Linked DNA regions of Homo sapiens: regions 1, 2 and 4 are each linked to region 3. The links are contacts of gene promoters, found by promoter capture Hi-C in blood cells and fetal thymus (Javierre and others, 2016). All regions are on one chromosome and are shown on one strand. The core of a region is centred on a gene start or on the middle of the fragment in contact, and the rest is flanking DNA. Distances in the headings are between cores, read along the strand shown.

Region 1 (6,405 bases), core at 1,471-3,970, 450 kb before region 3:
GCCTGCCTGCACCCAGGTGAAATAAACAGCCTTGTTGCTCACACAAAGCCTGTTTGGTGGTCTCTTCACAGGGACGCGTGTGACACTTAGCTGAACGTGCTGGCACGCACCTGTAGTTCCAACTACTTCGGAGGCTGAGGTGGAAGGATCGCTTGAGCCCAGGAGGTTGAGGCTGCAGTGAGCCACAATCTCACCACTGTACTCAGCCTGGGCGACAGTATGAGAACCCTGTCTCAAAAAAAAAAAAAAAAAAAAAGAAAAAAGAATTGTGTAAGCTGTACCAATTGAGATGTCTATGGTGTTGGCTATTGTTTCTGCTGTTAACTGTAAGTCCTCTTTAATTAAGGCATAAACAAATTTAATTTTTTTCTGCAAAAATTGATGTGGATGGTATGCCACGGTGGGCTTCATCTTCAGCATGACCCAGGCTGGAGTGCAGTGGCGCAATCACGGCTCACTGCAACCTCTACCTCCCAGACTCAAGTGATCCTCCCACCTCAGCCTCCTGAGTAGCTGGAACTACAAGTGTGCACCACCACACCCAGCTAATTTATGTATTTTTTGTACGGATGGGGTTTCACCATGTTACCCAGGCTGGTCTCGAATTCCTGAGCTCCAATGATCCGCTGGCCTCAGCCTCCCAAAGTATTGGGATTACAGGCGTGAACCACCACGCCCGAACTTGTCCCTTCTTAAAACGAGTTATCCATTTGTAAATGGCTGATTTCTCTGGGGCACTGTCAAGTTTTTGGAAAACATCAATGATTTCATCATTCTTCCACCCAAGCTTCACCATCAATTTGATGCTTGTTCTTGCTTCAATTTTAGAATTCGTGTTGCTCTGATAGGGGCTCTTTTCAATCTGATGTTTTATTTTAGTGTCTCAAACTAGGTCCTGTTCAGACAAGTTATAACAAGTTAGTATGAATTTATTTTGGTGCAAAAAAAAAAAATTGAACTCCATGCATAGTTTTTTCATAATACACATTTTCCATGAATTTTTGGAAGACCCTTCTTTTTCTCTCTTTTTTTTTTTTTTTTTTTTTTCTGTAGAGATGGTCTTGTTCTGTCACCCAGGCTGGAGTGCAGTGGCACAATCATGGCTCACTGCAGCCTCGACCTCCTGGGCTCAAGCAATCCTCCCACCTCAGCTTCCTGTTACTGGGACTATAGGTGTGCACCACCACACCTTGATAATTAAAAAAAAAAATTTTTTTGTAGAGATCGGGGTGGGGGGGGGGGTCTCACTATATTTTCCAGGCTGGTCTTGAACTCCTGGCCTCAAGTGACCCTCCCCAATCAGCCTCCCAAAGTGCTGGGATTACAGGCACAAGCCACAGTGCCTGGCCAATAAATGTTTTTTGAATGAATGAAGAAATTAGTGCATGGACATATTTTCCCATCAGCTATTACAATAACCAGACTCTGAGTTCCCTGAAGGCAGGGCCTGTGAGTTTCATTGTGTACCCTCAGCCCTCAATAGCTGATAAAAATAAATATTCAGAAAATGCTTGTAAAATGAAGAAGAGAATATGTATGGGACAGAAAGTAGACCAGTGGTTGCCTGGGGCTGGGACAGGGAATAGGGAGCGACTGCAAATGGGCAGAAGGGATCTTTTCAGAGTGATGGAAATGTTCTTGAATTGGCTGTGATGGCTGCAGAACTGTAAAATCACCCAAAATCAGTAAATCACTTATAATAGGTGAATTTTATGACAGGTAGATTATACCTCAGTAAAGCTGTTAAAACAAAACCAGTGTTGAGGGAGGAAATAAATGTTACCTTGGTAATACTGAGGACTCAGTAGTTATCAAGACAGCTCTCTTCCCTGCCCTCATGAGGTTTTCTGTGCAGGGCGGGGACGCCGACCCATTATAGACAGTGACAGCCTAGAGCCATCACGGCGGGATGGTGGGGAGGGGACAGGCAGAGGGGTGGGAGGCCAGGATGGGGGAAGCCCGGGCAGAGAGGTTGGGCTGGAATGGGGGGCACAGGCAGAGGGGTCGGGGCGGGGACTGGTGAGGTGCAGGCAGAGGGCAAAGGGGTCGAGGTCCAGATGGGAGATGTACAGGCAGACGGATCCGGGCCAGGGCGGGGAGGTACAGGCCCAGTTGAGGAGCATAAGGAACCATAGGAGCCCAAAGGAGGCGCCCGACCAGTCAGGGAGGACTTCCCAGAGGGGTGAATGGCTGAGCCAGGGCCTGAAGTATAATGTTCATGAATGCGACAGCAATTTTTTTTTTTTTGAGACCGAGTCTCCCTCTATCACTGGAGTGCAGTGGCTCGATTTCGGCTCACTACAACCTCCACCTACCGGGTTCAAGCGATTCTCCTGCCTCAGCCTCCCGGGTAGCTGGGACTACAGGCGCCCGCCCCCACGTCCGGCTAATGTTTGCATTTTTAGTCGAGACGGGGTTTCGCCATTTTGGCCAGGCTGGTCTTGAACCCCTGACCTCAGGTAATGCACCTGCCTCGGCCTCCCAAAGTGCTGGGATTACAGGCGTGAGCCACCGCGCCCAGCACAATTTTAATTTTTCTTAAACACTTTTCCTGCCTTAGCAAAGTCTTGGAGGGGCGGCCGCCCAGGCGCCGCGAGCGCAAGACCACGAGGGGGCGCTGCTTCACCACGCTAGAGGAGCGCTCCCGGCAACCACGTGGCCCCACAGGTGCGGGAGGTCGGCGAGCGCGCCTGGAGGGTGGACGGGGTAGGTTACGGCCAGGCAGCCCGGGGTGGCGCGTGGCCCTGCGCAGGGCAGTGGAAGCAGCGGGCCCCAGGGAGCATGAGACGCCGCGCTCCGTGGGGCGGTCCCAGCGCTGTGCAGCGAGGGGCCAGGGCTGTCCCCGGTCCTGCGCGGCCGGCTCCCGGAGAAACTGTGGCCTCCTGGGGGTGGAGCTTTAAAAAACAAAACAAAACAAAACAAAATCACCCAACAGGAAGCGGGGTGGGGGCGCCCGGCTCTGTCACCCGTGGAATGCATCAAAATAGCCTGCGCGGCCGGGGGCGGTTCCGGGAAAGGGGGCGGCCGCGAGGGGCGGGGCTGCAACGGAGGGCGGAGCTTCCCAAAGAACGGGAGAGAGGAGTGCAGAACCGGCCCCAGGGGGACGTCCTCCTGTTCCCCCAAAATGACCTCGATAGGCGTTTGTGTGGGATGGGGTTCCTGGGTAGGGCGGGGCTTTCCAGTGCGATGTCCCTGGTCTATTCTTAGCGGGCTGAAACCTGGAGAAGTGGGAGTGGGCGGTTGATCCGGGTTCCAGGGCCTCTTTGGAGCGAAAAGCTCCGTGGAGAGCCAGAGTCTCCATCCTGGGCGTGGGAGGGAAGATGGGAAATGGGCCAAGAGGAGCCTGTGGGAGGTCCTCCCCGGGACGGCCCCCTTCCATCTGCATCCGCGGGAACCGTTGTGGGGGCAGCTCTGAGAAAGGCTGCTCTGGGCGCAAGGAAGGGTGGTTGAACGAAGAGATCAGTCAGGGACGGGGTGGGGGTGCCTTGACTGTGTCCCAGATTTGCTGCGTGCTTCTGACCTCAGTTCCCCATCCTTCCAGTTGCTCAAATCCTCTCTGTCCCAGTCCTAGGCCGTTTCTGCCCCTCTCACTTCCTAGTGGTTTGCAGAGGGGAAACACTGAGGCTGCCTCTTCTGTGCCTGGCCCTGTGTTGGCACGGGGAAGTGACTGAGACGCCCCAGACCCCCTTCTCCCTCACAGTCCAGTGAGGCAGACAGACCTGCCACCAGATAGTGACAGCCCAGAATGAGTCATTGAGAGGACGGGGGAGGCACAGGCAGATGGGTCAGGGCTGGGATAGGGGAGGAGAGGGGCCTGTAGGATCCAAGGGGAGAGTGGGTGCTGCTGACTCAGTCTGGGGGGGTTGAAGAGCCGTCTGAACTTAGACCAAAAAGGTAGGATGGGGCCGGGCGCCTGTTATCCCAGCACTTTGGGAGGCAGAGACAAGAGGATCGCTTGAGGCCAGGAGTTCCAGACCAGATTGGACAACATAGCGAGACCCCCATCTCTACAAAATAATTTAAAAATCAGTTGGGCATAGTGGTGTACGCCTATAGTCCCAGCTACTCAGGAGGCTGAGGTGGGAAGATTGGTTGAGCCCAGGAATTCAAGGCTGCAATGAGCTATGATTGCCCCACTGCAGTCCAGCCCGGGTGACAGCGTGAGACCCCTGCCTCCAAAATAATAATAGCAAAAATACTGGGCTGGGCGCGGCGGCTCACACCTGTAATCCCAACACTTTGGGAAGCCGAGGTGGGCAAATCGCTGAGGTCAGGAGTTCCAGACCAGCCTGGCCAACATGGTGAAACCCAGTCTCTACTAAAAATACAAAAATTAGCTAGGTGTGGTGGCAAGGCATCTGTAGTTCCAGCTACTTGGGAGGCTGAGGCAGGAGAATCGCTTGAGCCCAGGAGGTGGAGGCTGCAATGAGATCACACCACTGCACTCCAGCCTGGGCGACAGAGTGAGACTCTGTCTCAAAAAATAAATAAATCCTAATGAAAGGATAGGATGGGGCTCAGGGCCTTGGAAGAGGGTCACCTTCTAACAAAAGGTATTTGAACGGAGTCCTAAAGAATGAGTAGCATTCTTCTGGGAAGTGCTGTGTCACCATGAAGGAAAGGGTGTTCTAGGCAGAAAGAATGACAAATGCAAAAGCTTGGAGGTGAGAGTGTGGCTTATCTCTGGCAGGGTCCTCTGCTCCCTGCCTGGGACATTCCCCCAACGTCATACCCCGACAGAGCTGTCTTAGGTCTCCTAGTCCTGGAGTCCACAAGCAGGTTAATGGGATGTAATGGAAACGCTATAGAGGGCAGACCCCTAGGCTTGTTCCCTCACAGCCTGATGCTTTTTTGTTTTTGAGACAGAGTCTCGCTCTGTTGCCCAGGCTGGAGTGCAGTGGCGTGATCTTGGCTCACTGCAACCTTGGCCTCCCAGGTTCAAGCGATTGTCCTGCCTCAGCTTCCCAAGTAGCTGAGATTACAGGCACCCACCACCACGCCTGGCTAAGTTTTGTATTTTTAGTAGAGACGGAGTTTCACCATGTTGGCCAGGCTAGTCTCGAACTCCCAACCTCAGGTAATCCACTTGCCTCGGCTTCCCAAAGTGCTGGGATTAAAGGCATGAGCCACCACGCCCAGCCTTTTGTTTTGTCTGCTTTTTTAGACAGGGTCTCACGCTGTCACCCTCACAGGCTGGAGTGCAGTGACTGCATCACGGACCACTGCAGCCTGGACCTCCCAGGCTCAAGCAATCCTCCCACCTCAACCTCTCCAGCAGCTGGGACTACAGGCGTATGCCACCACGCCCACCTAATTTTAAAATTATTTTGTAGAGACAGGGTCTCATTATGTTGCCCAGGCTGGCCTCGAACTCCTGGGCTCAAGCGATCCTCCCACCTTGGCCTCCCGAAGTGCTGGGCTTACAGGTGAGAGCCACCTCAGTGCCCGGCCTCAGCCTGATGGTTTCACGACTGCCTTTGACTTTGGCCCACACTAATCAAATGTATCACCGTGGGCCACTGACTCAACTTCCCCATCTATCCAGTGGGAATAGAATATTGGACTGCACAAAATCAACCACCTCATTTTAAAGAGCTATAACGAAACAAAATTTATATGTTATATATTTTTAAAAATACATCTTATAGATTAAAGGACTCAAGAAACAATAGCAAGACTGTAAAACGTTGCCACATCAGGTGACACTTTGGCCAGAGTTATGGAAAATGCTGACAAAACAAGAATTTGCCAGCATGGGCAAAGATATACTGTTACCAACCCAACTTGTTAAAATATTAATATTGAGCTAATTAGAAGTAGTTTTTTTTTTTTTGTTTTTTTTTTTTGAGACAGAGTCTCATTCTGTTGCCCAGGCAGGAGTGCAATGGTGTGACCTCAGGTCACTGCAACCTCTGCTGCCTGGGTTCAAGCGATTCTTGTGCCTCAGCCTCCTGGAATTACAGGCGCCTGCCACCACGCCCGGCTAATTTTTGAATTTTTGGTAGAGACTGGGTTTCTCCATGGCGGCCAGGCTGGTCTCGAACTCCTGACCTTAAGTGATCTGCCTGCCTCGACCTCCCAAAGTGCTGGGATTACAGGCGTGAGCCACTGTGCCCAGCCAGCAGTTCATAATATTTGTTTTTTATTCCTTGATTCTAACTCTGTAAGGAATAGAAATGGGGTGATTAATTTTGGCTCCTTTAATACCCGCCTGGCAGGTGCTGAGTCAGTGGTACCTGTTACCACGCTATGACTCAGAGGTTATCACTCAGGGACATCCTTCTGACTCTGTTTCAGTCCATGACTCAGGAGGAAAGGTTCTAGGGCCTCACCAGCGCCCTACACACACCCTCGTTTCCCGAGGGGCACCATTATATTCTTCCTTTATTGGCTGTCCTTGTATAA
Region 2 (7,118 bases), core at 11-2,510, 480 kb before region 3:
CAAGAGTTCAAGACCAACCTGGGCAACATGGCAAGAACCCATCTCTCAAAAACTTTAAAAATGATCCAGGTGTGGTGGCTGCAGTGTCAAGGCTGCAGTGAGCCAGGATCATGCCACTGCACTCCAGCCTGGGTGACAGAGTGAGACCCTGTCTCTACGGAAAAAAAGAAAGAAAAGAAAAAGAGATACATTACAGAAGTTTTTGTTTGTTTGTTTGTTTGTTTGTTTGAGACAGTCTTGCTCTGTCGCCCAGGCTGGAGTGCAGAGTGCAGTTCAGTTCACTGAAATCCTGGTTCACTGCAACCTCACCTCCCGGGTTCAAGTGATTCTCCTGCCTCAGCCTCCTGAGTAGCCAGGACTACAGGTGTGTGCCACCACACCCAGGTAATTTTTGTATTTTTAGTAGAGACAAGGTTTCTTCATCTTGGCTGGGCTGGTCTCGAACTTCTGACCTCAGATGATTCGCCTGCCTTGGCCTTCCGAAGTTCTGAGATTATAGGCATGAGCCACCGTGCCCAGCCCATTATAGAAGCTTTTAGGGGTGATGTTGTTTGTAACTTAGCCTCAAAGATTTTTTTAAAAATCAGAAAAAGAAAATACATAACAGAGAAGAGAGCAAGTGATAAAGGAAATGAGGTAGAAATGTTACCAATCCATGAACCTGAGTATAAAATACAAGAGAGTTCTTTGTCCTATTATTTGTCTTGCAACTTTTTGGTAAATTTGAAATTATTTCCAAAGGAAAAGTTAAAACACTTTCTAAAATTGAGAGATCTAAAATCTTAGGCCAGGCGTGGTGGCTCACACCTGTAATCCCAGCACTTTGGGAGGCTGAGGCAGGTGGATCACATGAGGTCAGGAGTTGGAGACCAGCCCGGCCAATATGGTGAAAACCTGTCTCTGCTAAAAATACAAAAATCAGCTGGGCATGGTGGGAGGTGCTTGTAATCTCAGCTACTCAGGCACGAGAATCGCTTGAACCTGGGGAGCGGAGGTTGCAGTGAGCCGAGATGGCGCCACTGCACTCCACCCTGGGTAACAGAGCAAGACTCCAACTCAAAAATAATATGAAATAAAATAAAATCTTAGACAACACTATCATTATAAGTAGGATTGGGGAGATCAAAAACAACATGCTCTGTGCTCCAGGTACTGTTTGGTGTGATGTTGAAAATATTAGATTTTAAACTTGATTTTTTCTTTTTTTTTTTTTTGAGGCAGAGTGTTGCTCTGTCGCCCAGGCTGGAGTGCAGTGGCGTCATCTCGGCTCACTGTAACCTCCGCCTCCTAGGTTCAAGCGACTCTTCTGCCTCAGCCTCCTGAGTAGCTGGGACTACAGGTGTGCGCCACCACACCTGGCTAATTTTTGTATTTTTAGTAGAGACGGGGTTTCACCATATTGGCCAGGCTGATCTCGAACTCCTGACCTCATGATCTGCCCTCCTCGGCCTCCCAAAGTGCTGAGATAACAGGCGTGAGCCACTGCGCCTAGCCTAGACTTGATTTTTTAAATTTCTGTCCTCCAATAGAAATAGACCTGATTTTTAAAAATGTGCATGGCCAGGCACAGTAATTCATGCCTATAATCCTAGGACTTTGGGAGGCCAATGTGGGAGGATCACTTGAGCCCAGGAGTTGGAGATCAACCTGGACAACATAGCTAGACCCTGTCTCTACAAAAATAAAAATATTAGGTGGGTGTGGTCTTGTACACCTGTAGTGCCAGCTACACAGGGGGTTGAGGAGGGAGGATCCATTGAGACCAGGAGTTCCAGCCTGCAACGAGCTAGGATCTCACCACTGCACTGCAGGCTGGGCAACAGAGCAAGACCCTGCCTCAAAAAAAAAAAAAAAAAAAAAAGCATGTTAAAATTTCAAAGATTGCTACAAAAAGAAAGAAATGGTGCATAGATTCCAAACTAGTAGAGGGAAAACAAAGAATAAGAAAACATAAGACAAAACTAAACAAAAAATGCAGCCAATTCAAAGAAGCTTAAATGAGCATGAAAAAATAAATAAACGTAGAAAAATGAGGACACTAGAATCACAAAGCAAAATGGTAGAAGTAAATAAAATACATCATTAATCACATACACAAAAAATGTATTCAGGGCCAGGTATGGTGGCTCACACCTGTAATCCCAGCACTTTGTGAGGCTGGGGCAGACGGATCACTTGAGGCAACAAGTTTGAGACTAGCCTGGCCAACATGGTGAAACCCCATCTCTACCAAAAATACAAAAAAAAAAAAAAAAAAAAAGAAGAAGAAGTTATCCAGGCATTGTGGTGCACGCCTGTAATCCCAGCTACTTGGGAGGCTGAGGTAGGAGAATTGCTTGAATCCAGGAAGTGGAGGTTGCAGTGAGCTCAGATTGCACCACTGCACTCCAGCCTGGGTGACAGAGTGAGACTCCCTCTCAAAAACAAACAAAGAAAAAATGTATTCAGAGGCCAAATACTTCTTACCACCTCCATAGCTGCCACCCATATCTTACCCTCCTCCTAGGGTTTGGAGTTCCTACTCCTGGCCCCACAATCTCTCCCCGTCATGCAGATAGAGGGACTCTGGGAATAACCAAGTCAACTCAACTCCCTCTGCTGCTCAAAACTTTCCTGTGGCTCCATCTCACTCAAAGATTATTTTGCTCATTTTTTTTTTGTTTTTTTTTGAGACAGGGTCTCACTCTGTTGCCCAGGCTGGAGTGCAGTGGTGCAAGTCATGACTCACTGCAGCCTAGACTTCCTCGGCTCAAGCCATCCTCCAGGCCTCCAGGGCTACCACAACCCAGCCAATTTTTTGATAGAGACGAGGCCTCCCTTATTGCCCAAGCTGGTCTTGAACTTATGGGCTCAACTTATCTACCCACCTCGGCCTCCCAAAATGCTGGGATTCCAGGCCTGAGCCACTGTGTTCCGCCAATCTCATTCAAAGTAAGAGCCAAAGTCCTCACTGTGGTCCAGCAGACTCTGCACCGTCTGCTTCTTGTTCCCTCTCTGACCTCACCTCCCCTCCACCCCCCACACGCTCCTCTGCAGCAACACGGATCTCCTTGTTGTTTCTCTAAGATCCAGACATGTTCCCATCCCACCCCAGGACCTTGGCACTGGCTGTTCCCTCTGCCTAGGGGACTCTTTCCACTAGGTTCAGTTTCTCTTTTTTTTTTTTTTTGAGACGGAGTTTTTTCACTCTTGTTGCCCAGACTGGAGTGCAGTGGCACGATCTCGGCTCACAGCAAGCTCCTCCTCTCAGGTTCAGGCAATTCTCCTGCCTCAGCCTCCCGAGTAGCTGGGACTACAGGCACCCGCCACCACCCCCAGCTAATTTTTGTATTATTAGTAGAGACGGGGTTTCACCATGTGGCCAGGCTGGTCTCGAACTGCTGATCTCAAGTGATCCATCTACCTCAGTCTCCCAAAGTGCTGGGATTACAGGTGTGAGCCACCGCGCCTGGCCCCCTTGGCTCAGTCCCTCACCACCAGCAGAAGAATGGATAAACTGATCCCACAGTGGCCTGCAATGTGTGTGTGCTGCAATGAGAATAACCTGTAACTGCACACGACAACCAGGATGAATTTTTTTCACGGTGCTGACTGAAAAAAGCCAGATGCTAAAAAGAACATATTTTCAGATTGCATTTACATGAATTCAAAACAGGCACAACCAATCTATGCTGTCAGAAGTGAGGGTGATAATGACCTTGGAGGGAGGGCAGGTGATAAGGGAGCGCCGAGGGGGCTTCTGGGGGGCTGGAGATATTGCTTCTTGGGCTGGTGGCTGGTGACACAGGTGTGTTCAATCGGTGATAATTCCTCCAGCGGTTACACTTACGGTTTGTACTTTCCTGAATATGGGTCTACTTCAAGAAACCACTGCTGAAAACGAGGAGCTGCACCCACCACCCAGTGTCCCCTCCATCCAGTTTAAGCAACAGGACATTCTCAGCCCCCCGGGGTCCCTCCCTCCCAATGCAATGTGCTTTTATGTCTTCAAGGGGCCTGGCCACCACCTTGGTTGCTTCCCCCAGCTTGCTATGCATGTCACCCCACGCATGTTCCAGGCAGCTCCACAGAGGTCCCCAGAGAGAAGGCAGGCTGTGGGTGGGAGGAAGGGCAGGGGTGGGGGACGTGGCTTCCCAGCGGAGCCCGGGCAGGGGGAGGAAACATTTCTGCAACACCCCACACCAAGTCCTGACTTCGGGGGGGCTTTGCAGGGTGAATTCTAAGTGCCCAGGGCCCCATGTGAAGGGGTCAACTGTGTCTCACTCTGTGTCTGTCTCTCTGTCTGTCTCTCTTCCTGTTTCCTCCCTCCCTCCCAGTCTCTCTCTCCTCAAGAAGAAAAAAACTCACAACTATTTACATAACAATTTTATATCAGACTGTAACCCAAAAACCCAAGTTCCAACTTCGAATTTTTCAATAAACTTTGAATAAATAGTAGTGCTATTTTTCTTTCTTTTTTTTTTTAGTACTGTAATGTTTACTTTTAAATTTAATTTTTACTGGCAGACTTTACGTATATGAGGTTCAAGAAAAGAAAATCTCCACTGTTTACATTTCTTTTCTGACTATTAATATTGTTCATTTCATTTCCTGATTATTACTGGCAATAATTTTGTCCTATGGGGAAGGGAGGCGCTTGGCAGGCCTCGAGTTATCCTTTGAGACATGGGGGTCTGTGGTCAGATTTAGAAAGTGCTTGTGGGTGGCTGGGTGGGAGTGGGTCATGGGAGACATAAGGGCAGGCTGGAGTCCAGGGAGGAGGCCGGCCGGGCAGGGACCCAGGCAGCGGAGATGGACAGGGCCATGGAGAATCTGGGAGGCGCAGGCCCTGGGGACTGTGGATTGGGGAAGGAGATAATTTTATTTTATTATATTTTTTTGAGACAGAGTTTCAGTCTGTCTCCAAGACTGTAGTGCAATGGCACGATCTCTGCTCACTGCAACCTCTGCCTCCCGAGTTCAAGGGATTTTCCTGCCTCAGCCTCCCAAGTAGCTGGGATTACAGGCACGCACCCTCACACCCAGCTAATTTTTAATATTTTTGGTAGAGACGGGGTTTCACCATATTGGCCAGGCTGGTCTCATACTCCTGACCTCAAGCGATCCACCTGCCCCGGCCTCCCAAAGTGCTGGGATTACAGGCATGAGCCACGACGTCTGGCCTAATTTTTTGTATTTTTAGGAGAGACAGGGTTTTGCCATGTTGGCCAGGCTAGTCTTGAACTCCTGGCCTCAAGTGATCCGCACACCTCAACCTCCCAAAGTGCTGGGATTACAGGTGTGAGCCACTACGCCCCGCCAAGGGAAGGGGAGAATTTGAGTGCTATTGAAGGTAGAAAACACAGAACATAGGCTGGGTGTGGTGGCTCATATCTCTAATCCCAGCACTTTGGGAGGCCAAAGTGGGAGGCTGGCTTAATCCCAGGAGTTCGAGATCAGCCTGGGCAACATAGTGAGACCCCTGTCTCTACAAAAAATTAAAAATTAGCCAGGCATGGTGGCACCCACCTGTACTCCCAAGGCTACTTAGGAGGCTGAGGTGGGAGGATCGCTGGATCCCAGGAGATCTGAGGTGAGCCGTGATCATGCCACTGCACTCCAGCCTGGGCAGCAGAGTAAGACCCTGTCTCCAAAAATAAAAAATAATTTAAAATAAAGCGCGGAACACTGTCAGGTTGTCTGTGGGGGAGCAGCGGGCAGGCGACCAGGAGGGCTGGCTGCTCTGTGCAGGGCTAGTGCCTGGGTTGGGATGACTCGGCCTCAGAGCTGTAAATAAAGAAGGAAGAGGGCCGGGCGCGGTGGTTCACGCCTGTAATCCCAGCACTTTGGGAGGGCGAGGTGGACTAATCACCTGAGGTCGGGAGTTCGAGACAAGTCTGACCAACATAGAGAAATCCCATCTCTGCTAAAAATACAAAATTAGCCGGGTGTGGTGGCACATGCCTGTAATCCCAGCTACTCGGGAGGCTGAGGCAGGAGAATCGCTTGAACCCGGGAGGCAGAGATCACAGTAAGCCGAGATCACAACACTGCACTCTAGCCTGGGCAGCAAGAACAAAACTCCATCTCGAAAAAAAAAAAAAAAAAGTAGAAGAAAGAAAGAGCTGCCACAGTTGAGAGCTTCCTGGATGCCTTTGTTAACTCTTGGGGTTTTCACATACCCATCTTACAGATGGGGAAGCTGAGGCTCAGAGAGAGGAAGGCCCAAGTGGAAGAGCAAGCCTGGAGCCCAGGTCTCCTCCTGCCTAATCCTGGGCTTTTGCTGGTGGACTCCCGCCCAATCTTGAATAACTTCAGGCCTTAAACAACCTCCCACGATTGCTTTTCCTCCCATTAGAACAATAAATGCAGATACAAAAACCAACTATGCTTGTCTACAAAGCCCAAGAGAATTTTTGAAGTAATAAAACTGTCATGAATGCAGACTGTGGTGATTACATGACTTACGAATTTTTCAAAACTCAGAATCGAGCCAGATGAAATGATCCTGCCTGCAATCCCAGCACTTTGGGAGGCTATGGCAGGAGGATCATTTGAGGCCAGGAGTTCAAGACCAGCCTGGCCAACATGGTGAAACCCCGTCTCTACTAAAAATACAAAAATTAGCTGGGTGTGGAGGCACATGCCTGTAATCCCAGCTATTTCAGCAGCTAAGGCAAGAAAATTGTTTGAACCCGGAGGCTGAGGTTGCAGTGAGAAATGATCGTGCCACTGCACTGTAGACCCTGTCTCAAAAACCAAAACCAAAACCAAAAAAAGAAAAAAAAACCCTTAAGAATCAGGATTATACACGAGCACACGCACACTCACCCATAAATTTTACCATTTGTAGAAAAGAAGAAGAAAATTCAAAACCAAATACAATGAATGTACTTTCTCTGGATTCCAATTCACACCAAACAACTGTAAAAATCTGTTTTTGAGACAATTGGGGAACACAAACTGGCTTTTAGGAGATATTAAGGAATTTCGGTTAATTATGCTAGACTTGATAATGCCATTGTGGTTGGGTAATGCCCACATACCATGCCTTGGCTGGGCGTGGTGACTCACACCTGTAGTCCCAGCATTTTGGGAGGCCCAGATGGGAGGATTGCTTGAGCTCAAGAGTTCGAGAC
Region 3 (7,044 bases), core at 4,256-6,755:
AATGGCCTGAACCCAGGAGGCGGAGCTTGCAGTGAGCCGAGATCGTGCCACTGCACTCCAGCCTGGGCGACAGAGGGAGACTCCGTCTCAAAAATAAATAAATAAATGAATAAATAAATAAATAATAAAAATAAAAAACAAAAAAAGTAGCTGGGCATGGTGGTACAGGCTTATAGTCCCAGCTAATTGGGGTGCCAAAGCAGGAGGATCACTTGAGCTGAGGAGGTAAAAGAAAGAGGGAAGGAAGGAAGGAAGGAAGGAAGGAAGGAAGGAAGGAAGGAAGGAAGGAAGGAAGGAAGGAAGGAAGGAAGGGGCAATACCTACCATTATACCATTTCTGGTGCGTGTTTTTTAATAGCCATCCTAATGAACACGAAGTTATATCTCTTGCTTTTGATTTTTATTTCCCTAGATGGCTAGTGATTTTGAACATCTTTTCATAAAAGGGTCTTTTTAAGATGGGAGAAATACAGCTTATTGGGGTTTTTTGTTTGTTTGTTTTGTTTTGTTTTTTGAGACAGAGTCTCCCTCTGTTGCCCAGGCTGGAGTGCAGTGGTGTGATCTCGGCTCACTGCGACCTCTGCCTCCCGGGTTCAAGCAATTCTCCTGCCTCAGCCTCCTGAGTAGCTGGGACTACAGGCACACACCACCATGCCAAGCTATTTTTGTATTTTTAGTAGAGTCGGGGTTTTACCATGTTGGCCAGGCTGGTCTTGAACTCCTGATCTCTATTGATCTGCCCATCTCAGCCTCCCAAAGTGCCGAATTACAGGCATGAGCCACCATGCCCGGCCAGCTTATTGGCTCTTTATGAAAAATATTCAATAGAGAGAAGAAAACAAATCACACAGGAAATGAAAACATGACACAGCCACTTTGGAAAAGAGTTTGGAAGTTTCTTATAAATATACACTCATCATAGAACCCAGCAGTCACACTCACAGATATATCCAGATACACGAAACATAGATCCCCACAAAGACATATGCATATATGCCAAGAATAATACATATTATTCAAAATAGCCAGACCTTGGGAACAATCCACATTTCCATCAACTGGTGAAAAGCAAATTGTGGCACATCTATATGCGGTGACATGCTACTCTGCAATGAAAAGGAATGAGCTTCTGATGTATGTAACACATGGTTAACTCTCAAAAGCATTACGTATGCTTCCCAGAAGCAGGCTTGGTATATGGAAGAAATGCTGTAGATTTTCTTTTCTTTTTTTTTTTTTTGAGACGGAGTCTCGCTCTGTCGCCCAGGCTGGAGTACAGTGGCATGATCTTGGCTCACTGCCACCTCCGCCTCCCAGGTTCAAGTGATTCTCCTGCCTCAGGCTCCCGACTAGCTGGGATTACAGGCACCCTCCATCAAGTCCAGCTAATTTTTGTATTTTTCATAGAGAGAGGGGTTCACCACGTTGGCCAGGCTGGTCTCAAATTCCTGACCTCAGGTGATCCACCCGCCTCAGCCTCCCAAAAAGCTAAGATTACAGGCGTGAGCCACCATGCCCAGCCGTAGATTTTCATTTATATGAAATGTAGATCAATAGTGGGAAGAAAAAACTAGAACAGGGCTGGATGCAGTGGCTCAAGCCTGTAATCCCAGCACTCTGGGAGGCTGAGGCAGAAGGATTGCTTGAGCCCAGGAGTTCGAGATCAGCCTGGGCAACATAGGGAGACCTCTGCCTCTACAAAAAATTTTTAAATTAGCCAGTTGTGATGGCACAGGCCTCTACTTCCAGCTACTCAGGAGGCTGAGGCCGGGGGATCATTTGAGCCAGGGAGGTCAAGGTTGCAGTGAACAATGATCACACCACTGCACTCCAGCCTGGGGGACAGAGCAAGACCCTGTCTCAAAAGAAGAGAAAAAAACCTAGAACAATGGTTGCCCACAAGAGATGGAGCATGGTTGACTAGGAAGGAGTAGGAAGGAGGGTTCTCTTTTCATTATTATTATTACTTTAGAGAAGGGAGTCTCTCTTTGTCACCCAGGCTGGAGTGCAGGGGTGTGTTCATAGCTCACTGTAGCCTGGAACTCCTGGGTGCAAGTGATCTTCCACCTCAGCCCCTTGAGTAGCTGGGATTACAAGCGTGCACCACCACACTTAGCTATTGTTTTTTTCTTTTTTTTAGTAGAGACAGGGGTCTCGCAATGTTGCACAGCCTGGTCTCAAATTTCTGGCCTCTAGTGATCCTTCCACCTCAGCCTCCTATAGCTAGGATTATAGGCACAAACCACCACGCCCAGCTCCAAGAGAACTTTCTTGGATGATGAAAATATTCTGTATCTTCACAGGGATTTCGATACCTTCAAAATTCAGCAAATGTTCACTTACCATGTGTGTATTTCATCACAGGTAAATTTTACCTAAAGAAATCGTTAAGGGAAAACTCCATCTACACACCTTCACAGGAACTATGACACAGTAAATAGAATCAAGTCCTCCAGTTGGCGATGGAATGGGATCTGGCACACCAGAAGGGGGCTCACCTAAGCCTGACATGGGACACTGTGTGGTTCTAGCAGGAAGGAAGGCTGCATGTGCCGTCCAGATGCCAGTGGGCAAGAGGACAGGATGATGGAGGATGCGCCCGCTTACTGCCCATTGCTGCCATTCTCTCCGTGAGATAAGAAGCGGGTTCATCAACAAAGAGTGAGGTGACTGAAGAGGGTTTTGGAGTTTGAGGAGGCAGGAACAAAAGGATAGGAATAGGGCGGGGGGAGTTCCAAGAGAGGACAATGAGAGGCGAGGCATTTTTCCACCACGGAGTGTGTTTCAGCTTTCTGCAATACCCCAGCGGTTCTCAACTGGGTTGATTTTTTTCCTCCCAAGGGGACATTCAATAGTATCTGGAGTCATGTTTGTTTGTAACAACTGGTAGGGAATGAGTGGGTGGGTTCTGTCATCTACTGAGTAGAAACCAAGGACACTGCTAAACATCCTACCACACACAGGATGCAGCCCCCACCACCCATGAAGGCCCAAGACATCAACAGCAGTGAGTTGAGAAATTGCAATACATCCCTTCCTTGCCCCAAGTTCCCTCTGTAGCAGGAGAGCAAGTCAGAATAACAGAACTCAAAGCCTCTTAAAACCCCCCTTCTCGGCCACACATGGTGGCTCACGCCTGTAATCCCCAGAGGCCCAGGTGGGAGGATCGCTTGAGCCCAGGAGTTGGGGACCAGACTGGGTGACATAGCATGCTAGATCTCATCTCTACTAAAAATTTTAAAAATTAGCCAGGTGTGGTGATGCGTGCTTGTAGTCCCAGCTACTTGGGAAGCTGAGGCAGGAGAATCCCTTAAGCCCAGGAGATCGAGGCTGCAATGAGCTATGATCACACCACTAAACTCCAGTCTGGGTGACAGAGTGAGACCCTGTGTCAAAACAAACTAACTAACTGCCCTTCCCATAAATCCCAGTTTCCCCAATCAGGTGGTCCCATTAGGCCCATCTTTTTTTTCTTTTTTTTTCTTTTTTTTGAGTCAAAGTTTCACTCTTGTTGCCCAGGCTGGAGTGCAATGGTACAATCTCAGCTCACTGCAACCTCCACCTCCCGGGTTCAAGTGATTCTCCTGCCTCAGCCTCCTGAGTAGCTGGGATTATAGGCAAGCACCACCACGCCTGGCTAATTTTTTTTGTATTTTTAGTAGAGACAGGGTTTTGCCATGTTGGTCAGGCTGTCTCAAACTCCTGACCTCAGGTGATCCACCCACCTCGGCCTCCCAAAGTGCTGGGATTACAGGCATGAGCCACCACGCCCAGCCTCATTAGGCCCCTCTTAACCAAGTTCTAGGGTGAGGGATAAGTTGCTTACAGGGTTGGCGTGGATACAGCACTACACCCTCCCCTTAAAAGTAGGGAGTAGACGCCAAGGGAAACTAGAGCTATATAATCCCATCATCAAGCCTTCAGCCCTCTTCCAGGACCTGCCCCAACCGGCCTATCCAGGACTGAAACAACAGCATGGGCCCCACCTCCACCCCACCATATGCCTGGGACCTAGGGTGTCAAATTCCCCAGGACCTCCAAACACTTCCTCCTCTGCCCCTCTGAGAACAGCAATCCTGGTGCACACCCACGAACCTGTGGGGGTACCCACACCTCCACCTGGCCTCCCAGACCCTTGACCGCAGGGGCTCTCCACCCAGCCTAGCCCCTGGCACCAGAGCCCTGGCCCAGCTCCAGGTTTTGCATTCTGCCCTTGTGACCTGGCCAGGAGGTGGGTAACTAGGGCCAGTTTCTTCTTCTTTTTTTTTTTTTTTTTTTTTTGAGACCGAGTCTCACCCTGTTGCCCAGGCTGGAGTGCAGTGGCATGTTCTTAGCTCACTGCAACCTCCACCTCCCGGGTTCAAGCGATTCTCCTGCCCCAGCCTCCCAAGTAGCTCAGACTACAGGCGTGAGCCACCATGCCTGGCTAATTTTTGTATTATTAGTAGAGACAGGGTTTCACCATGTTGGCCAGGCTGGTCTTGAACTCCTGACCTCAGGTGATCCACCCACCTCGGCCTCCCAAAGTGCTGGGATTACAGGCGTGAGCCACTGCGCCTGGCCTACTAGGGTGAGTTTCTAAGGCAGGAGCTGAGAGTAGACATGGCTAGTAGGGTGCTCAGGAGGGCAGGAGGAGGGCTGTTTATGAGCCAGTGGTGGGAGAGAGTGTCATTCTAGTCTGAGAGGCTTTTTCCCTGTGGCTTCCAGCTCTGCCCTTTTCTTAAACACTCCTTCAGCCTCAGCTTGGCTTCAGTCCCACCAAGTGCAGTCTGACTCGTGGAGACATGAGAGATAGAGAGAGTGAGAGACCAGAGAGATCAGGAGACAGTGACTGAGAGGGACTTACAGGGAGATCAGGGAGAGAAGCAGAGAGAAGGAGAAAGCCCAGAGAGCATAAGAAATGAAGACCCAGAGACACCAAAGGAGGGAGAGACAGAGACACAGAGAGACAAAAAGATTCAGAGGCAGAGACTGTAGAGGCAGAAGCAAAGCAAGACACAGAGCATTTCAGAGACCCACGGCAAGAGACAGGGAACAGCATGGAGAACTATGAAAAAATAGGCTTCCAGAGAAAGAGAAAACTCCAGCTCTGGAGGGAAAGGGACTTAGCCAGGGCCACTCGGCCCATCAGTGGCAGAAATGGACTTGAACCCAGAGAAAAAGAAACAAGTGCCCCAAATACCAAAGGAACCCAGCCCCCATCCCTGGCCCATCATTTTGCGACAGCCCCATGACTACCCCAAAACCAGGCCCAGGCTCCAACTGGCAAAGCAAAAAAAAAAAACAAAGAAAGAAAGAAAGCTTTGCCCCATCCCAGGAGGGCCCCCAGGCGCAGCCCCCTCCCACGGCACCTTTCCAGCTGGCTGTGAGCCCTAGGGCCGCAGGAAAGGTATGGCAAGATGATGGGAGGGATTTAAAGTTCACAGCGAGAACAAGAAAAGTGGGGTTAAGGAGGAGGGTGTGGGCAGAAACAACTTAAGAACAACCTCTGCCCCACCACCCCCCAAGCACACCCAGAGCTGCAGGCTCTAGCGCATCCCAGCCAGTGTCTCCTGCAGCTCAGCAGGTAAAGGGCCCCGGTGAGGGAGGCAGAGAAGGAGGGGGTGTCTCCCAAGAGAGGGTGGGTCGCCAGCTCCAATCTCTGTCTCTGAGACTGGCTAGGAATCTTTTTTGCTGTTTCCTCTGAGAGCTCTCATGTCCCTGTTCTGAGCACTGGGATTTCTTTACTGGTGCTTCACCAAGTAGGTGGCTTCTCTCTCTGCAATGCAACCCCATGGTTGGCAACACTTGATTTTTTCCTGTCACTGTTTCTGCCTGTGCCCTTCCTCTCTGTCTCCGTCTCTTTCTCTCTCTCTCTCTCTCTTTTTTTTTTTTTTTTTTTTTTTGAGGCTGGAGTGCAGTGGTTCAATCTCAGCTCACTGCAACCTCCACCTCCTGGGTTCAAGCGATTCTCCTGCCTCAGCCTCCTGAGTAGCTGGGATTACAGGTGCCTAACACCACGCCTGACTAATTTTTGTGTTTTTAGTAGAGACAGGGTTTCACCATGTTGGCCAGGCTGGTCTCAAACTCCTGACCTCAAGTGATCCGCCTGCCTCGGCCTCCCAGAGTGCTGGGATTACAGGCGTGAGCCACCGTGCCCGGCCTCAGTCTCTCTTGGTCTGCCCTTTGCAGCCTACCCGTCTCTTTGTGTGGCTCTAATATTCCCTGCCTCTCTTATTCTCTCTCTCTCTCTCTCCATCTCTGTCTATGTGACTCTGTCTTTGTGTATCTGTTTCTGTCTGTCATTCTCGTCTCCCTCAGTCTCTGTGTCTAGCTCTGTCTCTCCCTCTCTCTGTCCCTCTTACCCTTTTTCTCTCCATCCTTCCATGTCCCTCTCTGTCTCTCAGTCAGTGTCCATCTCACTGTCTCTCCACTCAATCTCCCTTGTCTTTCTCTAGCTCTGTGTCTGTCTAGTTCTGTCTCTTTCTTTCTCTAGTCTATGTCAGCCTCTCTCTTTCTGTGATGTGCTCTCTGGCTCTCCCTATCTCTGTGTTTGTCTGTCTCTGTCCCTGTGTGTCTTGATCTCTCTTTATCACTGTCTCTGTATGACAGTCTCTTGACAGACAGGTGATGATAGATAGATAATAGACAGATGATACACAGATGATAGATTATGAAGATAGTAGATAGATGATAGATATAGATAGATAATAGATGATAGATAATAGACAGATCAATGATAGATGATAGAAGAATAGATAGATGATGGATAGACAGATGATAGATGATAGATAGATAGATAGATGATAGATAGATGTTGATAGATGTTAGATAATAGATGAGAAACAAAGAAAGAAAGAAAAAGAAAAAAGAAAGAAAGAAAAAGAAAGGAAGGAAGGAAGGAAAGAAAGAGTGATAGATGATAGATGGCTGATAGGTAGACAGACATCTGTAGATATGTAGATCGCTCACTGTTTTTCTGTCTCTCTCATTATCTTTATGCATATCTCTTGGCCTCTCTTAGTCTCTGTTCCTCTATCACTTGCCTCTCTCCATTTATGTCTC
Region 4 (6,901 bases), core at 1,003-3,502, 380 kb before region 3:
GGGCAGGAGATTCTCTGGAGGGCGAACCCTATTGTGAACTGTGCCTGCAAGGGATCTAGATTGTATGCTCCTATGAGAATCTAATTGATACTTGATGACCTGAGGTAGAAGAGTTTCATCCAGAAACCATCCCCCTCACAGTCTGTGGGAAAAATTATCTTCTACAAAACCAGTCCCTGGTTGGGTACTGCTACAAAGGATACTGCAAAAGATGAAGAGAAGTGTAGGGCAAGGTATGGGGGAAGGGGTACGGAGCTTCCATGCCCTCCCTGGGCGCACCACGCTCCAGGAACCTCCACAGGGTCAGCTATCTGGAAGCTCCTGAGCCCAATCCTTGGTTTTTTTTTTTTTTTTTTTTTTTTTGAGAGGGAGTCTTGCTCTGTGTCCCAGGCTGGAATGCAGTGGCCTGATCCGCCCGCCTTGGCCTCCCAAAGTGCTGGGATTAGAGATGTGAGCCACCATGCCCAGCCTAATCCTTGGGTTTTTATGGAGGCTTTAAGACACCAGCATTCCTTCCCCCAGAGTATAGGGTGGGATCCTCTCTGGGGAGGGTCCTAAGACCCACAGTCAGGAAGGTGGGGAAAGATTAGAGTCCTGCCTTGGGGCAGGTGAAAGGAGGGCAGGAGGAGGTCAGAGATTTTGGTTTCTTGAGCCAGCTTCTGAGATCTAACACACCTAAAATTATAACAAAAGATTGTGGCTGGGCGCAGTGGCTCATGCCTGTAATCCCAGCACTTTGGGAGGCCAAGGCAGGCAGATCACTTGAGGCCAGTTCAAGACAAGCCTGGGCAACATGGTGAAACTCTGACTCTACTAAAAAAATACAAAAATGTGCCAGGTGTGGTGGTATACTCTTGTAATTCCAGCTACTCAGGAGGCTGAGGTGGGAGGATCACTTGAACCCGGGAGGTCCTAGAAGTTGCAGTGAGCCAAGATCACGCCACTGTACTCCAGCCTTGGTGACAGAGCAAGACTCCATCTCAAAAAAAAAAAAAAAAAAAGGCTGGGCGTAGTGGCTCACACTTGTAAATGGGAGGCAGAGGCAGGCCGATCACGAGGTCAGGAGTTCGAGACCAGCCTGGCCAACATCGTGAAACCCCATCTCTACTAAAAATACAAAAAATTATCCGGGTGTGGTGGCGGGCACCTGTAATCCCAGCTACTCAGGAGGCTGAGGCAGGAGAATCGCTTGAATCCGCGAGGCAGAGGTTGCAGTGACCCGAGATCACCACCATTCCATTGCACTCTAGCTCGGGCGGGCGTCAAAAAAAAAAAAAAAAAAAAAAAAAAGATTGTAACAAGGGCTATGAGAGTTACCAGCCAGGAACCATAGAGGGAAACCAATATACATTGTAACTAACACCGGGTCTCGCTATGTTGCCGAGGCTGATCTTGACTTTCTGGGCTCAAGTGAACCTCCTGCCTTGGCCTCCCAAAGTGTTGGGGTTACAGATGTGAACACTGCACCTGGCCCTACCTTTAATTTAGTCCAGTTTGTCAGTTTTTTTCATTGTGTTTAAGAAATCTTTTCCTACTCCAAGATCATGCAAATATTATGTTTTCTTCTACAAGCTTTATTGTTTTAGCTTTCATATTTAGACCTACATTCCAGATAGAATTAATGTTTCTGTGTGTGGGAGGTAGGGATCAGGTTCATTTTTTTCCATATGGATTGTTGACCCAGCACTGTTTATTGAAAAGACTTCCCTTTCCCCACTGAATTGCAGTGCCTAGTCATAACTGCACAACTCTACGTGTGTGTCTTTGTGGACTCTGTTGTATTCTGTGCATTGATTTGCCCATTCTTGTGCCACACTGTGGCTTTATGTCTTAATATCAGGAAGGGTAAGCCCTCCAGTTTGTTCTACATAATTTCCTTTGTCACATCCTCTGTGTGCTCAGGACCTATCTGGAAGAGGAGCTAGTGAAGGCACGGGAACGTCCCCGTCCCCGGAAGGACATGTATGAGAAGATGGTGGCTGTGGACCCTGGGGCCCCTACCCCTGAGGAGCATGCCCAGGGTGCAGTCACCAAGCCCCGCTACATGCAGTGGAGGGAAACCATGAGCTCCACCTCTACCCTGGGCTTCCGGATCGAGGGCATCAAGGTGAGGACCAGGAACCGCCTGGCCTGTCCCGGGAAGGCCTATAGCCAGATCCCAGGCAGGGCTTCTTGGGGAAAGCCACGAGAGAGTGCAGGAGACGGCGTGGGATGAAAGGCTGGGGCTGGGGAAGCCCAGCCTCTTTCTTACCTCCATACCCATCAGAGCCCAGGTTCTGTTTATCCGTCTGCCTGAGCATCTCCTGAGTCCATCTTTTCCTCCTCTCCTTCTCCATGGTCATGTCCTAGTCCAGCCCCATCTTCTCCTGCCTCTGTCTCCCTGGGCATCCTGGCCCTGGTCTCCCTGCAGCACAAGAGCTGGAGGGATCCCTTTCCCCCAGCTATGGAGAAGGTTTCTCTTTTTCTTTCTTGCATTCCTTTTTCTTTGTCAAATTAAATATAATTGTATGAATAGGCCAGGCATGGTGGCTCATGCCTGTAATCCCAGCACTTTGGGAGGCCAAGGCAGGAGGATTGCTTGAGGCCAGGAGTAGTTCAGGACTAAGCTGGCCAACATAGGGAGCTTCTGTTTCTAGAAGAAAAAAAAATTGTTTGAATAGCTAGTCACACAGTTCAAAAGTCAAAATAATATTATAAAAGGGTAAATGTGGAGAAATTTCTCTCCCAACTCTGCTGCTGTCCTTCCCATTCTGTCCCTCTATCCCTCTACCTGCTCATGGGGAACCACTTTGTCAGTTTCTTGTATTTCTTCCTGTTAGTGCCAGTAAATGGAGTTGTAGATCCGAAATGTTCCTCAGTACGCATACTGATTGGTACTTTGCTATTTTCACTTAATAGTAACACCCTGCAGAGTTTTCCACATCATTCCATAGAAAGCTTCCTCTTTCTGTTTTTTTTTCCCCCACAGCTATGTAACACTGTTTTTGTGACTGTGCCTGGTCCCCTATAGACAGACACCTGGGTTGTTTCCATTTTTTGCCATTAGCAGGCCTCAAAGAATCACTTTGTATATAAGACATTTTGCAAGTATGCAGATTGAGCTGTAGATTTCCAGAAGCAGGACTCCTGGGTCAAAGCTTAAAGGCATGGGAAATTTGCGAGAGATGACCAAACTTCCACTCTCGGTGTTATGCCACTGCACATCCCACCAGCAATGTATGAGAATGCCTGTTGCAGATCCGACCATGCCATTCTCCTGTTCGAAACCCTTCTGTGGCTCCCTAGTACCTTGAAGTGAAGTTCCATAGCCTGTAGGGCCCTCTAGGATCTAGCCTCTTCTCTCTCATTCTTCTCTTTTCTTTTTTTTTTGAGAAAGAGTCTCGCTCTGTCACCCAGGCTAGAGTGCCATGGCACAGTCTCAACTAATTGCAACCTCCACCTCTTGGGTTCAAGCGATTCTCCCACCTCAGCTTCCTGACTTGACGTGATTACTGGCACGCACTACCATGCCTGGCTAATTGTTGTTTTTTTTTTTTTTTTTGAGACAGAGTCTCGCTCTGTTGCCCAGGCTAGAGTGCAGTAGTACAGTCTTAGCTCACTGCAAACCTCTGCCTCCCGGGTTCAAGCGATTCTTCTGCCTCAGCCTCCCAAGTAGCTGGGATTACAGGTGTGCACCACCGCTCCTGGCTAATTTTTGTATTTTTAGTAGAGACAGGGTTTCACCATATTGACCAGGCTGGTCCTGAACTCCTGACCTTGTGATCCACCCGCCTTGGCCTCACAAAGTGCTGGGATGATTACAGGCGTGAGCCACTGTGCCCGGCCTAATGTTTGTATTTTTAAGAGAGGCGGGGTTTCACTATGTTGACCAGGCTGATCTTGAACTCCTGGCCTCAAGTGATCTGCCTGACTTAGCCTCCCAAAGTGCAGGGATTATAGGCGTGAGCCACCACGCCCAACCTCTCATTCCTCTCATTCTTTCTGTGTACCTTCAGGCACAGTGAAGCACTTGCATTTACTTGAAATAGGCTTGCTTTTTCCTGCCACAAGGCCTCTGCACCCCTCTGCCAGGAATGCTCTTCTATTTTTTTTTTTTTTGAGACAGGGTCTCACTCTGTCATCCCCCAGGCTGGAGTACAGTGGCGCGATCACAGCTCACTGCAGCCTCAATCTCCTAAACTCAAGTGATCCCCCCACCTCAGTCTTTTGAGTAGCTGGGACACAGGTGCGTGCCACCACACCCTGGTCTCTTCCGTCTGTGCCCCCTGGTCTGGTTGATTCTCAGTCATTTTTCTGTCTCCTTTCAAATTTTGCTTCCTCAGGGAAGCCCTCCCTGATTTCTGTTCTACTGATCAGGGTCCCCTCTTCACCTCCTCATAGCTCCTTATACTCTTTCATTATTCTTATCTTCCTTTCTGATCATCTTAATCAGTGTCTGCCCCCTCATCTGACTGTGTCTGTCGTGTTACTCCCTATTGCCAAGTGCCCACATAGCACCTGGCACAGTGTGGCAGATGACTTAGGTGGGTTCTCTGAGCCCTACTGAAACATAACAGATAACATTAGTCTCATTAGTCTCAAATAACTATATGCCAGGCACTGTGCTGTGCATCCTACACACCTGGTTTCCTCTAATCCTTACACCAGCCTTAGCAAGTAGACACCAACACAATTCCCGTTTTCCAGATGAGGAAACTGAGGCTGAGGCAGCTGAAATGACTTAAGACTGCCCAGCTAGAAAAGAGCAGAGATGGCCAGGTGCAGTGGCTCACGCCAGTAATCCTAGCACTTTGGGAGGCCAAGGCGGGCGGAGCATGAGGTCAGGAGATCGAGACCATCCTGGCTAACATGGTGAAACCCCGTTGCTACTAAAAATACAAAAAATTAGCCAGGCGTGGTGGCGGGAGCCTGTAGTCCCAGCTATCAGGAGGCTGAGGCAGGAGAATGGCATGAACCCAGGGGGCGGAGCTTGCAGTGAGCCCAGGTTGCACCACTGCACTCCAGCCTGGGTGACAGAGTGAGACTCTGTCAAAAAAAAAAAGAAAAGAGCAGAGTCACGATTCACAGCCAGCTCCACCCTGCTCCAAAGCCCACTTTCCTAGATGGGTTCAACCAGGAGGTTCAAGGTTGGAAGGGTGTGGAAGGACTGGGGCTCAGGCATGTGACCTGGGGCTGGGTTGAGCTGGGCTGGGCAGGTAAGCTGGCTTCCTCCTCTGGCAGCAAGTGTGCAGGCAGGTGGGTGGCCCTGGGAAGTTGTTTTTTTTGAGACAGAGTCTTGTTCTGTCACCCAGGCTCGAATGTAGTGGTGCAATCAATGCTCACTGCAACCTCTGCCTCCCGGGTTTAAGCGATTTTCCTGCCTCAGCCTCCCGAGTAGCTGGGATTACAGGCGCCCGCCACCACACTTGGCTAATTTTTTGTATTTTTAGTAGAAACGGGGTTTCACCGTGTTGGCCAGGCTGGTTGTGAACTCCTGACCTCAAGTGATCCTCCCGCCTCGGCCTCCCAAAGCACTGGGATTATAGGCATGATCCCACACCTGGGACCACAGGTGCATACTACCACACCAGAATTTTTTTTTTTTTTAAATAGAGATGGGGTCTTGCTGTGTTGCCCAGGCTGGTCTTGGCCACCGCGCCCGGCCTCCTGGGAGGTATTTGAGGTTGCTGGGTATTGGGTGCGGGAAGGAAAAGCCCATGACCCTGCCCCTCCACACCCTGCCCTACAGAAGGCAGATGGGACCTGTAACACCAACTTCAAGAAGACGCAGGCACTGGAGCAGGTGACAAAAGTGCTGGAGGACTTCGTGGATGGAGACCACGTCATCCTGGTGAGTGGGACACCCATGTCCCAGAATGTAGCAGCTTAAGACAGCCACCATTTATTCTTGCTCCAGAGTCAGTGGTCTTCTGCTTTGGGTGGGGCTGGACTGATACTGGCTGGCTTTGCTCAGTCTGAGGTCAGCTGGTGGCTTGGCAAGGCTGGCTGGTCCAGGGGGCCCTGCTCCCAGCTCTGCCGGTTGGCTCATGACTTGGCCGCACGTCTCTCGATAGCAGGATGGCCTGGGCTTGCTCTCACAGTGGAGGCAGGGGGCCAAGAGAACAAGTAAAAATGCAAGGCCTCTTGATGCCTGGGCTCAGAATGGCCACCATCATTTCTGCCGTTCGGCAAGTCATGTGACCCAGCCTGGATCGAGGGGTCTGGAGACAGACTCCGCCTCCGGATGGGAGTGGAAATTCATGGAATCCACCACTCTTCTCCATGCCACCTTGATGAATCCAAGCCCTCACTCCTCTGCCCTGTCTTCCCCATGGCTCCCCTATTCCATCCTGGCTAGAGCCTGCCTGCTCCTTTGGGGGAATGGGGTGAGGTCAGAGCTCAAGGTGGGCAAGGCCCCACAAAGTCCCCATGCTAACCAAAGAACGCTCCCTGTCACACAGCAAAAGTACGTGGCATGCCTAGAAGAACTTCGTGAAGCTCTGGAGATCTCCCCCTTCTTCAAGACCCACGAGGTGCGAGCCCTGGCTTCCATGGGTGGATGTATGGGTGTCGGGGTCCAGGTGCATGGAGGGGAAACCATTGATGAGTTACAGGTCAAAGATATAAAAAGGGGCTGGGCGTTGTGGCCCGCACCTGTAATACCAGCACTTTGGGAGGCTGAGGTGGGAGGATTGCTGGAGCCCAGGAGTGCCAAGACCAGCCTGGGAAGCACAGCAAGACCCCGTCTCTATTTGGAAAAAAAAAAAAAAAAAAAGGCCGGGTGCAGTGGCTCATGCCTGTAATCCCAGCACTTTGGGAGGCTGAGGCGGGCGGATCACTTGAGGTCGGGAGTTTGAGGCCAGCCTGGCCAACATGGCGAAACCCCGTCTCTATTAAAAATACAAAAATTGGCTGGGTGCGG

What was found. The method cuts DNA at HindIII sites, captures the fragments that hold promoters and counts their contacts. A CHiCAGO score of 5 or more calls a contact.
Region 1: a contact is called between a fragment that was not itself captured here and the fragment with the promoter of CYP2F1 in region 3, in 9 of 17 cell types (naive CD8 T cells, naive CD4 T cells, total CD4 T cells and 6 more). The highest score is 12.9, in naive CD8 T cells.
Region 2: a contact is called between a fragment that was not itself captured here and the fragment with the promoter of CYP2F1 in region 3, in 3 of 17 cell types (neutrophils, naive CD4 T cells and naive CD8 T cells). The highest score is 6.0, in neutrophils.
Region 4: a contact is called between a fragment that was not itself captured here and the fragment with the promoter of CYP2F1 in region 3, in 1 of 17 cell types (naive CD8 T cells). The highest score is 5.0, in naive CD8 T cells.

Annotation. Positions count from the first base shown.
Region 1 is chr19:40,660,320-40,666,724 of GRCh38, forward strand. NUMBL (NUMB like endocytic adaptor protein) reads right to left here. Exons shown (of 10, transcript NM_004756.5): 10 at 5,586-6,405. Among named protein-coding and RNA genes, the nearest start is that of NUMBL, 27 kb to the right of the region's middle. RefSeq lists a silencer at 2,599-2,878. The HindIII fragment of the contact is 3,870 bases long and covers 786-4,655 here.
Region 2 is chr19:40,636,777-40,643,894 of GRCh38, forward strand. No RefSeq gene overlaps it. Among named protein-coding and RNA genes, the nearest start is that of LTBP4, 39 kb to the left of the region's middle. RefSeq lists a silencer at 117-238. The HindIII fragment of the contact is 1,460 bases long and covers 531-1,990 here.
Region 3 is chr19:41,108,927-41,115,970 of GRCh38, forward strand. It overlaps CYP2F1 (cytochrome P450 family 2 subfamily F member 1), which reads left to right and starts at 5,506. Exons shown (of 10, transcript NM_000774.5): 1 at 5,506-5,566. The HindIII fragment of the contact is 5,953 bases long and covers 5,300-7,044 here.
Region 4 is chr19:40,731,258-40,738,158 of GRCh38, forward strand. It overlaps ITPKC (inositol-trisphosphate 3-kinase C), which reads left to right. Exons shown (of 7, transcript NM_025194.3): 4 at 1,903-2,107; 5 at 5,729-5,830; 6 at 6,441-6,512. Among named protein-coding and RNA genes, the nearest start is that of ACTMAP, 16 kb to the right of the region's middle. The HindIII fragment of the contact is 1,365 bases long and covers 1,571-2,935 here.